Regions from separate parts of the Homo sapiens genome. Here all the other regions are linked to region 1. The links are contacts of gene promoters, found by promoter capture Hi-C in blood cells and fetal thymus (Javierre and others, 2016). All regions are on one chromosome and are shown on one strand. The core of a region is centred on a gene start or on the middle of the fragment in contact, and the rest is flanking DNA. Distances in the headings are between cores, read along the strand shown.

Region 1 (3,919 bases), core at 397-2,896:
CATGTTTAAGGCTTCAGATATATACTGCCAAGCTGACTAGCCCAGGAAAGTTGTACAGATTTGCCCTAATCAATATGTTTCATAACTGTTTTTGAAATCTTGCCAACTTTAAACCTAATAGGTCAGTATCAGTAATTCCCGTTAACGTAAGAGTTCAAATTTGCCCTAGTTTTAATCATTTAAAAATTTTTTATAATTTTTAAATGATAACAATTATGATGCAACCATGACTTTGAGAAGCCAAGAGATCTTATTCTCAAATTGTAAATGAATCCGTAAGAGCTAAGAGAGAAGAAACAGGCTATTAAATGGCCAAAGATCAAATCTGAAATGTCCAGGAGTTTTCCTGTAGGGGTCACTGTTACTGTCAATTTATGCCTGCAAGAAAACTAAAATAGTCACACATTAAAGCATGTATGCACATTTTTAATGTCTGATTCCTCTACATTTCTTAAACTGTAAAATAATAAGAACATGCAGCCAGATAGCATCGCGATACCAACTTCTTTATATAATGACACGTACCATTCCACTCAATGTGCTCCTCAGTTTGAATTTATAAAATATATGCTACTCAAATGAAAGGCACTTATGCCTGCTCTTAGTAGAGGAAGCGCTAGCTAATTGCCTAACGCCCCATTAGCATATGGCCTATACTGACTTGAGAAGGAAAGAACGTTCATTGCTGTGGCCAATAGGATCCCCTCTCCCCACCTTCCCTTTTCTGCATCAAAATCTACACAGACAAAAGTCAGATGTTGTAATATGCATTTTATCGTGTCACTTAAGTACTAAGAGGTGCTTTTAAAGTTTTTATTAATGCTGCTCAAACTTGACCCCGACGGTCCAGGATACAGGCCAAGGTGTCAGTGCGGACACAATCGCAAGGCGGCTGTTAGGCTTCAGGGCTGGGCAGGAAACTTGCCAGGTGCTACTAGGAACGTATCAGCCCTTTCTACAAAGCAGGTGTCTTTCCCATCATAAAATGCAAAGCAATCAGCCGTTCCCTTTCTCCCCAGCCCCCTCGTCCGGAGACCGAGAGGATATTTACCCTGGGCTCTTGCAGTTCTCTTATAACTGAACCCAGCGGCGGCTCCTTCTCCGAGCTCAGAGCCAGCAGGCTCAGGCCCAGCCACACTTTACAGGCAAATTGCCGAGCTGACCAAGGGCTTTGGCCAAGCCCGAGCTGGGCCGGGGCGTCCGGGAAGCGGAAGGAGCCAGTCTAGGAAATCCGGGTGTGCGTGGTGGTGAAGCTGGTGGGCAAGCTTCCACTTCAGGTCCGGGGCTTTGTGTCCCGCAACAGACGCTTGGCGCCGCTCCTCTTCCAGCCTGCTGCCGCCTTCTCCGAGCGAGTGAGTTGGCGAAACTCACTCACCTGTCGGAACCCGGTGCCTGGCGGCCAGACGCGCAGATTACAGCAAACCTTGGCCGGGACGCCCCAGCCAGGGAGGCAAGTGTGGGAGCTGCTCCTAGAGGTGCCAGCTCCCACCCCCAGCTCCGCGCCCCCTGCTCGTCCCCTTTCACTTCCAGGCGCCTTCGGCTTGGGGTGCCCAGAAGGGCAAGTCCAGCAGACGCCAGGGCTGCAGGTTCAAGATGCTCCGCCTCCTCCTGCCACTTAGAGCCACAAACGCTAGCGGGAACCTTTCCACTCAGTCTTAGTCTGCGGTCACTGCTGAGGTTTTCAGAACTTTCCAGGCAAAGGCCAGCCAGGTCCTTTGCCTCCAACCCACTCCGCGCCTACCTCCCGCCTGGGGACACCCCTAGGCCCAGGAGATCCTACTCTCCCCCGAGCACCGACGTTCCAACTCGTCTGCGCCCCCGACTGCTGTCCGGCTCCTGTGCCAAGGGGCGCGCGCATCTTCCCGGGGCCAGCAACGCTCCCAACTTCTCGACTCGCCCTCCTCCTCCCCAGAGCGAGAGTGGGGCGGGCTGAGCCCGGATCCGGGGTGCACTCGAGCGTTCCCAGCGCTCGGCATTCACCCCGCCTCAGAGCCGACTTTCGAAGGGGGATTGAGCCTCGGAGGTCCAGGCGTCTTACTCCAAAGCTCAAGTCGGCCCCCGTCTTTTCTTTCCACACCCCTGTGCCCGTCGCATGCTGGCCGGGTGAGCGGCCGGGCCGAGGATTCGGGTGCCCGGGGCCGCGTCGCCCCGTCGGGTACTGAGCTGAGCGCACCATGGCCGGCTGCTGCTGCCTGTCCGCGGAGGAGAAGGAGTCGCAGCGCATCAGCGCGGAGATCGAGCGACAGCTTCGTCGGGACAAGAAGGACGCGCGCCGTGAGCTTAAGCTGCTGCTGCTGGGTGAGTGGCTGCGTCTCCGACTCCAGTGAGCCGGGCGTTTTTCTTCCGAGCCCTCCCGGCCTCTCCACTGGCACCCGCGCGGCCCTGGAGCCCAGCGGGGTGCAGGGCGGCTTCGTCCTTCTCCCCCTCGGAGCTCACGGATGCCAGCAACTTGGGGCCTTAGGTGCCTGTTCTTTCCATCTCTGGCTGGGCGACTTGCAAAAGCAACACCTTCCCCTGCCCCAAAACAGGATAGGGACCTGTAACACTTAACCTCTTGACCGCTGTACCTTATGTGTTCCGGTGTGCCCCTCTCCTCAAAACCCCGTCCACTCCTCCGCCCGCAGCACACCCAGCTTGGGGTCTGTGGTGACCCACATCTTGGGTTCAGCGCTAGCTCTGACCCGTACGCTTTCAGTTCTAGATGAAGCATCTTGAGAATTTACCATGTGCCAGATCGTGCTAAGTTCTTAAGGGCATCACCACCTGGTGATGCGGGCAGGTGATATCGCTATTCTAGAGAATTAAAACATGGAGGCCTGGAGAACTGACCAACTTGCCCTGATTGAGAAAAGGCAAAGCCGATGCTAGGTCAGCTGTGGGGGTGAAGCCCATGCCGTTGCTGCTCCTCTGACCGTGAGCTCCTATGCCTGCCTCCCATGGGGGTCCCTCAGGCCTTTGTGTTTGCAGCGGACCCAAACCTCCCTTGCCCAGCTTGACTCAGTGTGTCCACGTCCTAGGATTCAGCTTGGCTGCCCTGGTGCCTCTGGCAGGTCTTCATCCAGCTCTTTTGGTGTCTCTGCAAAGGTCTGGGTAGGACATCCACTTTCAAACACAGAAAGAACACAGTTTAAGGTTTGCCCAAGTTATGCCATGAGGCAAGGATCCCATCTCAGACTTTCTAGAACGCTGTCAACACATTTGCTGTTTGAGGAATATTTTACCTTTTCTACCTTTCAGACCATGATATCAGCTGTCAATTTTTTTCTAGATAGCCACAAAGATTTCAACTTTTTTTCTTTCACCCCTTTTGAACAGGAATCTTCTCTTATACCATCTATTTATTCATCTTTATTCCTTGTATAGGAATCACCCTCCCAGAAAGCTTCAAGGAAAGAAAAAGTTGATCTAGTTAGTGTAATATAGAGAAGGCTCTCAGCCAGTATGGCCTTCAGACCTGGGCGGAAGAACCCCCTTATCCTTATCCCCTGGGTTTAAAGGGCCCAGTCTGGCCTTCTGGGGGTTGGGGGGGGGTGTGCCCCTCCCCACAGAGCTGGAAGTCTGTAGGTCCAAAGGGGCTTGCTACCCAGAGACCATGCTGCCCCCTCCCTCCCAAGACCTGGATGGAATGAATACCCAGCCCAAAGGGACCCATACCAGCTTCTAAGGCCTGAGCCCTAGAAAAGAAGGCAGACCTGATCCCTGGAGAGCTCACAAAGGGGCAGCTGTTTGCTGGGGCGTAAAAGTGCTTGGAAATGTGGGCTGGGTAGGAGTGGAGGGAGTCCCCGTGGGTGCCCAAGAGGCCCCCCTAGGAGAGAGGGAGCTTGGGTGGGGAAGGGAAGGGGCTCTGTTCATTGGCCAGGTCTGCTATTTCTGTGTCTGACCCATAACTTTGAAAAGTCTGAAAATTCTAAATTGTCCC
Region 2 (3,919 bases), core at 920-3,419, 500 kb before region 1:
GATATACTATGTTCAGGAATCAGAAGACTCAGTATTATTAAGATGCCAATTTTCCCTAAAGTGATCAACAGATTCTCTCCAATCACAATAATAACAGCAGTAGAATTTTTGGTAGGGATATTAAGCTGGATCTAAATCTTATATGGAAACACAAAAAACAGAATAAGCAAAACAATTTTGAAAAAGAACAAAGTTGGAGATATATTACCTGGCTTAAGGCTTACTATAAAGCTTCAGTAACCAAGACAATGTGGTATTGCCATAAGGATAGACATATGTATATGTCTAAATATTTATATATCTATCTATATCTGTACATCTTCACAGACCAGAATAGAGTTTTCACAGAACAGAATACATACATATCTGTCAATCAGTGTCTATCTACCTACCTACCTACCTACCTATCTGTCTACCTACTTATCTATCTATCTAACTATTCACAGAACAGAATAGAAACTCCAGAAATAGACTTATACAATTGATTTTTTGGAGGGACAAATGTTCTAAGGTAATTCAATGGGAAAAGTAGAGTTTTTCAACAAGTGGTAATAATAATTAGGCCAAAAAAATGAGCTTCAACCCTTATCCTCACACCATATACCAAAAATAATTCCATATAGATCATAGACCTAAATATTAGAACTAAAATTATAAATATAGGCCGAGTGCAGTGGCTCATGCCTGTAATCCCAACACTTTGGGAGGCCAAAGCAGGTGGATCACTTGAGGCCAGGAGTTTGAGACCAGCCTGGCCAACATGGTGAAACCCTGTCTCTACTAAAATCTACAAAAATTAGTTGGGTGTGGTGGTGCACACCTGTAATCCCAGCTACTCAGGAGGCTGAGGCATGAGAATCACTCGAACCCAGGAGGCAAAAGTTGCAGTGAGCCAAGATCATGCCACTGTGCTACGGCCTGGGTGACAGCAAGACTCTGTCTCAAAAATAAATAAATAAATAAAATAAAATTATAAATATTCTTGAATAAACTACAGAGGGAGATTTTGTGATCTGGGGCTAGGCAAAGATTTTTGGTAGGACACAAAAAGCATAAACTTTATTAAAAAAATGGATAAGTTGAACTTTTAAATGTTTGCTTCTGAAAAGACTCTGTTAAAAACATGGAAAGGCATACCACAAACAGGCATGAAATCTTTACAAAACATATATCTGATGAAGAATCTGTATCCAGAAGTATGCAGGACTCTTATTATTCAATAACAAGAAGAAACTAGTTCAATTTTTTTAATGTACAGAAGATTTGAACATACACATCACAAAGGCTATACAAATAGCAAGTGAAAAGACACTCAATTTCTTTAGTTATTAAAGAAATACAAACTAAAACCATAATGAAATACCATTACATATTCATTATAATGACTAAATTTTTTTTTTTTTTTTTTTGAGATGGAGTCTCTCTCTGTCACCCAGGCTGGAGTGCAGTGGCCGATCTTGGCTCACTGCAAGCTCCGCCTCCCAGGTTCAAGCCATTCTCCTGCCTCAGCCTCCTGAGTAGCTGGGACTACAGGCGCCTGCCACCATGCCCGGCTAATTTTTTGTATTTTTAGTAGAGACAGGGTTTCACCTTGTTAGCCAGGATGGTCTCAATCTCCTGACCTCCTGATCTGCCCGCCTCGGCTTCCCAAAGCGCTGAGATTACAGCCGTGAGCCACCGCGCCAAGCCTATAATGACTAAAATTTAAAAGGCTGACAATAACAACATAGGCAGGAATATGGTGCAATTGGAGTTCTCAGACATGGCTGGTGGAAATGCAAAGCCACTTCAGAAAACAGATTAGTCATTTCTCATATATTTAAACACAAACTTACTACATCACCCAGCAATTTCACTATTAGGTATTGACCTGACTTAAATGCATACAGATGTTCATACAAAAGAATATAAAGGTTCACAATGGACTTTATTCATAGTAGCTCCAAACTAGAAGCACCCCAAATGTCCAATAGGCTTAATGAACAAACAAATCTTGGTTATCCACAAAATGGAATACTAGTAAACAACAACAAAAAAGAATATGATTTTTGCACAAACAAATAAATCTCAAAACCGTTAAGCGCAGTGCAAGAAGCCAGACTCAGGAGACTACATACCATATGATTCTATTTTTATGACATTCCAGAAAAGGCAAAACTGTGGTGACAGAAATCAGATCAGTGGTTGCCAAAGAGTGGAGGTGTGAAAACAGGGTCAAATGTTATGTGACAGAAGGCAATTATGGTGGGTGATGAACATATTCTATACCTTGATTGTGGTGGTGGTTACATGACTACATGCATTTGTCAAAACTCATCAAACTGTACATTTAAAACACATGAATTTGGCTGCGGCGACGGCAACATGGAGAGCGGGGCCTATGGCGCTGCCAAAGGCGGGCGGCTCCTTCCACCTGCGGGCGCTTCCTGACGCAACCGCAGGTGGTGGTGAGCGCTGCGTGCAGGGTCTTCGCCTTGATCGTGTTCTCCTGCATCTATGACAAGGGCTACAGCAAGTCTAAGCAGAGGTACTGCGTTTTCAACCATAACGAGGACGCCTTCCGCTACCGCAATGCCATCAGGGTGCTGGCCTTCCAGGCCTCGGCCTCCTTGGTGGTCGACGTTTATTTTCCCCAGATCATTAATGCCACTGACCGCAAGTACCTGGTCGTGGGTGACCTGCTCTTCTCAGCTCTCTGAGCCTTCCTGTGGTTTGTTGGTTTCTACTTCCTCACTAACCAGTGGGCGGCCACCCAACCGGAGGACGTGCTGGTGGGGGCCAACTCCGCGCAGGCAGCCATCACCTTCAGCTTCTTTTCCATCTTCTCCTGGGGCGTGCTGGCCTTCCTGGCCTACCGGCACTACAAGGCTGGCGTGGACTTCATCCAGAACTACGTCGACTCCACCCTGGACCCCAACACTGCCTACGCCTCCTACCCAGGTGCATCTGTGGACAACTACCAGCATCTGCCCTTCACCCAGAATGCGGAGACCACTGAGGGCTACCAGCCGCCCCCTGTGTACTGAGTGGCTGAGTGCCGTTTGGGGTGGGAAGGGGGGCAGAGAGGACCCTCCCCTCTGCCCTGGACTTTCCCACGAGCCTCCTGGAACTGCCAGCCCCCCTCCTTCGCCTGTCACGTCCTGTGCGATTGACACACAGCTAAGGAGCCTCCCAGCCTCGGGGTCTGGCAGAGCCACACCCCAAGTGCCCGCACACAGATGGCTTCAGTCAGCCACTCACTCTTCCATGACACTTTTAGGAAAGGGTTTTTAGCTAGTGTTTCTCCTTGCTTTTAATGACCCCGGCCCCTCCTGGAGTGGCTAGAAGCCAGCAGGCACCCATGTGCTACTGACAAGTGCCTCAGCTTCCCCCCAGCCCAGGTCAGGCTGTGGGAGTCGCTGTTATCTGCGTTCTCTGCCAAAGACTCGGGGGAGCCCTCACACCTGCCCTGTGCAGTGGGGCGGGACCAGGCTCCTGCGTCCTCACTCAGGTTTGCTCCCCCTATCCCCACTGCTGTATGATCTGGGGGCCACCACCCTGTGCCAGTGGTCTCTGGGCTGCCTCCCATGGTGTGGGGGTGGGGCCGGTGCCCACAACACTTCCTCCTTGCTCCCACTCCTGGCAGCAGGGAAGAGCTTTGCCTGACAACACCCAGCTTTATGTAAATATTATGCAGTTGTTACTTAAGAAGCGTGAGGAGGGCAGGGGTGCCCCATGGCTCCCAGACTCTGTCTGTGCTGAATGTATTATAAAGCCTTAGGGGAGATGCCCCGCCCTGGGATGCTGTTTGGAGATGGAATAAATGTTTTCTCATTCCAAAAAAAAAAAAAAAAAAAAAAACATGAATTTTATGGTTTTTTAAATGTGTTTATACCCAATAAAGCTGATTAAAATTTCTAAAAATATTCTGTTCATTTCT
Region 3 (3,919 bases), core at 374-2,873, 450 kb before region 1:
TAAACATGCTATTTGTAGCTTTAGTGCATCTGATTGGTTGTTGACAACAGTGTTTACATCCTGAGAGAGCAGAAGAATAAACTGTTGCGTAGATTGCTGTCAAGTCTGAGTTATTCTAGCAGCAGAGTTATTTATTGACTATAAAAAAAATCTTGCTATTTCCATCTGGCTGTCTGCTTGATGAAACATATTTCCAGATAAAATGTAAGCAGAGGAAAATCCCTTTTGTTCCACCTAAAAAACATCATTGGCTTCTAGAACATGAATACTATGCTCACGAGTAAACCTGCTCCAAGGGATACTTCTGAAGATGGTTATTTAATAGCTTTAGCTTTAGAAGAACAATTAGGGTGGCCATTAGTTTTCAATATTTCAAGCACAAATCTTTTAAATAGCATCAATCTCAAAGCAATGTAGAAACTACCCATTTTCTTGAGCTTTTGTCTCAATCAATGCTGTTTAAAATAGTTAAAAAAATAAATTTCATTGAACATGAATTAAGTCTTAAATCAAATGATTTGCAGGATTTGAAGGACTTTTATCCATTTAATAACTTGCTAAGATGAGACTATGATTTACTTGGTAAAAAAAATTATAGCCCATGAATCACTGGGTTACCACTCATTAATTATTATTGACTGTGTTAGGATAGTATTTTACAGAAGAAAAATATCATGACTTTCACAGTAAAGTAAGCATTACAATAAGAATGACAATTTGTTCATGAAAACTAGTAGCAGAATTGAAAAGGGCCTCTGGGGCAATTGAGTTTCTCCCCAAATTTGTTGACTGAATAGCTGCCATTATTCTTCAGGGCTTTCTCAACAGGTGGCTGTCAGATCCAGGTCTGCCTGCTATTGGTAACAGCATTTCTTCAACATCAGCCAGCATCAGGCCCCATTATCTTGAACTCTTTATAAGCTTTCTTTCCTTCAGCTTCAAAATTTCTTGCGTTAGTTCATAGTCTTTCTTGCTTTTATAGGAAATTCCAGATCTCTCCTTTTCTAAATCAAATTTGATCTGTTAATAACATATAGCATGTACCTATTTAGAATGTCATCTTCCCCTTGCAGACTTTCAGTAAATATTTTATTGTCAAGGTTTGCCCACATTTACTCCTATCCAAATCTGATTAATCGACTTGCTGAATGGTATTCACTATGAAAACTTGGTCCTCAATGTTGAGTCTTTAAAACAAATATATTTGTCTAGTTATTTGTCCATCGATTCACCCCTGCATTTCCTCACACACACTCAGAAATTGGCACACAAACTGCATATGCATAGCTTCTAGGGGCTTGGAGAAAGCATCAGTTAGAGCCTGCTCCCCAGAGCTGCCTTATGTTGTGATGTAGATGCACATCAAGTTTAGAATCAAGAATGTTAGAGTGAAAGTAACCAATGAAAAACTGAGGTCCAGAACTGTTACTGTGATGTGCCTGAGCCACGGCCACATTGAGTGAAACATGATGCACCTCACCTTCTAGGTTAGTGCTTTGTCTTTCTGCCCCCCTTGTTTTCCTGTGTGAATTTGATCTTGAAAATTAGCCACGTGTGAAGCAAGCCTAAATCAACACTCCTCTGTAAAATAGACAAGGTGAATTCAAGATTACTGTGACTCAGCTCTTAAATTCTGTCATTTAACAATCAACATTTCTGTGAAGTAAATAATTACTCCTTAATTCATATTCTTTTTTTTTTTTTTTTTTTTTTTTGAGAGGGAGTCTCGCTCTGTTGCCAGGCTGGAGTGAAGTGATGCGATCTCAGCTCACTGCAACCTCCACTTCAGGCGATTCTCCTGCCTCAGCCTCCCGAGTAGCTGGGCACTACAGGCGCGTTCCACCTCACTCAGCTAATTTTTGTATTTTTCTAGAGACGGGGTTTCACTATGTTGGCCAGGATGGTCTAGATCTCCTGACCTTGTGATCCACCCGCCTTGGCCTCCCAAAGTGCTGGGATTACAGTCATGAGCCATATATTCTTTTTTAAAAAATAGAATTTTAGTTTAGAATATCTTTCAATGTACTTAATTTTTGCAAAGATAGTACAGAGTTCTCATACACCCCACACCCAATTTCTCCTAACATTTTTTCCTGTATATTTGTCACAATTAATAAACCAATATTGATATATTATTATTAATTTTATTTTCTTTTGTAACATTATAGTTTGGTTTTACATTAAAGGAGATGTGCTATCATTTTTTGAAGGGAGTATGTAATCTTATCTGATATATTACATGAAAATTATCAGCAAGTCATAATTATTTAACGTTATTCTTCATATTTCTGACCTCGTGTCCTTTTTTCCAATGTACAAAGCTTTCATCTATTTGTTAATCAAATACTTATATTGTGTTTACTGTGTGTCAGACACTGTTCTAGGTCCTCTGTAAACAGTAAGCATTTAATCCTCATAACATACCTACATATTATTATCATCCTCAATTTGGAGATGGGAAATTGATGCTCAGAGAATTTAAGTAACTTGCTCAAAGTCACACAGTGCAATCTAGCTCCAGAGTCATGTTCTTCGTCTCACATGTGCTCCTATGCTTCTCTAGGGGACAGAATCCAGCCTTACCTTGTTTATTTCTATAACCCTTCGCCAACTCCTGCACCATAACTTGCAAGTGGTGTGGTAGATGTATTACTCTGCTCAGGCTGCTGAAACAGAATGCCACACACTGGGTAGCTTACACAACAGAAATGTACTTTCTCACAGTCTTAGAGGCTGGAAGTCCAAAATTAAGGTGCCAGCAGGGCTTGTTTCTGGGAAGACCATTTTTCCTGGCTTGGAGATGGCTGCCTCCTCTCTGTGTCCTCACAGGGCCTTTCCTCTGTGCATGATGACTCCTGATACCTATTCCTGTTCTTGTAAAAATGCCAGTCCAAGGCTGGGCGCGGAGGCTCACGCCTGTAATCCCAGCACTTTGGGAGGCTGAGGTGGGCGGATCACAAGGTCAGGAGTTTGAGACCAGCCTGTCCAACATAGTGAAACCCCATCTCTACTAAATATACAAAAATTAGCTGGGCATGATGGCACATGCCTGTAGTCCCAGCTACTCGGGAGGCTGAGGCAGGAGAATCGCTTGAACCCAGGAGGCAGAGGTTGTGGTGAGCCGAGATTGCACCACTGCACTCCAGCCTGGTCAACAGAGCAAAACTCCATCTCAAAAAGAAAAAAAAGAAAAAAAAAGACAGTCCTTTTGAATTAGGGCCCTACACTTGAGCTCTCATTCAACCTTAATTACCTCTTTAAAGACCCTATTTCCAAACAGTCACACTGAGGGTGAGGGTTTAAGGCTTTAACATATGGATTTTGGAGGTGGGAGATGGGGGTTGGAACATAATTCAGTCCATAAAAATAGGCAATCACAAATGTCTGCTAAATTGAATTTACATTTTGAAGCAATGCACCCAATATCCAGTCAAGCAGGCAGTTTTTGTTGTTGTTGTTGTTGTTTTAATTTCTTTTGAGACAGGGTCTCACTCTGTCACCCAGAGTGAGGCACATATCACTATGCCCAGCTAATTGTTTTTTCTTTTTTATAGAAACAAGGTCTCCTTATGTTGCCAGGCTGGTCTTGAATTCCTGGGCTTAAACCGTCCTCCCACTTCAGCCTTCCAAATTGCTGTGATTACAGGCATGAGCCACTGTGCCCAGCCAGTTGTTTTTGTTTTTAATCACCTCAGATGCACATTTGCGATAATATTACAGTTATATCCCAAGTCTTTTATTGTGCACACCATCATCTTCATAGTTTATCTCCTATTCTTTCCAAGTCATTTCCAATAAACAAGACATTTGCCATTGAAATTATTGTTACGACCACACACATTTGTAATTTTTTCCTCATAAGCTTTTATAAACACATCATAGTGAGATCAAGGCAGTTAATTTATCATTATAAAAAAAA

What was found. Contacts are between HindIII fragments. The CHiCAGO score rates a contact against its expected background, and 5 or more counts as called.
Region 2: a fragment that was not itself captured here is called in contact with the fragment with the promoter of GNA14 in region 1 in 1 of 17 cell types (neutrophils); the score reaches 5.6 in neutrophils.
Region 3: a contact is called between a fragment that was not itself captured here and the fragment with the promoter of GNA14 in region 1, in 1 of 17 cell types (erythroblasts). The highest score is 5.1, in erythroblasts.

What each region holds. Positions count from the first base shown.
Region 1 is chr9:77,646,049-77,649,967 of GRCh38, reverse strand. It overlaps GNA14 (G protein subunit alpha 14), which reads left to right and starts at 1,646. Exons shown (of 7, transcript NM_004297.4): 1 at 1,646-2,298. The coding sequence starts at 2,175. The HindIII fragment of the contact is 2,117 bases long and covers 1,268-3,384 here.
Region 2 is chr9:78,149,639-78,153,557 of GRCh38, reverse strand. It overlaps the pseudogene SYNGR2P2. Among named protein-coding and RNA genes, the nearest start is that of CEP78, 84 kb to the left of the region's middle. The HindIII fragment of the contact is 3,871 bases long and covers 234-3,919 here.
Region 3 is chr9:78,099,020-78,102,938 of GRCh38, reverse strand. No RefSeq gene overlaps it. Among named protein-coding and RNA genes, the nearest start is that of GNAQ, 69 kb to the right of the region's middle. The HindIII fragment of the contact is 1,400 bases long and covers 924-2,323 here.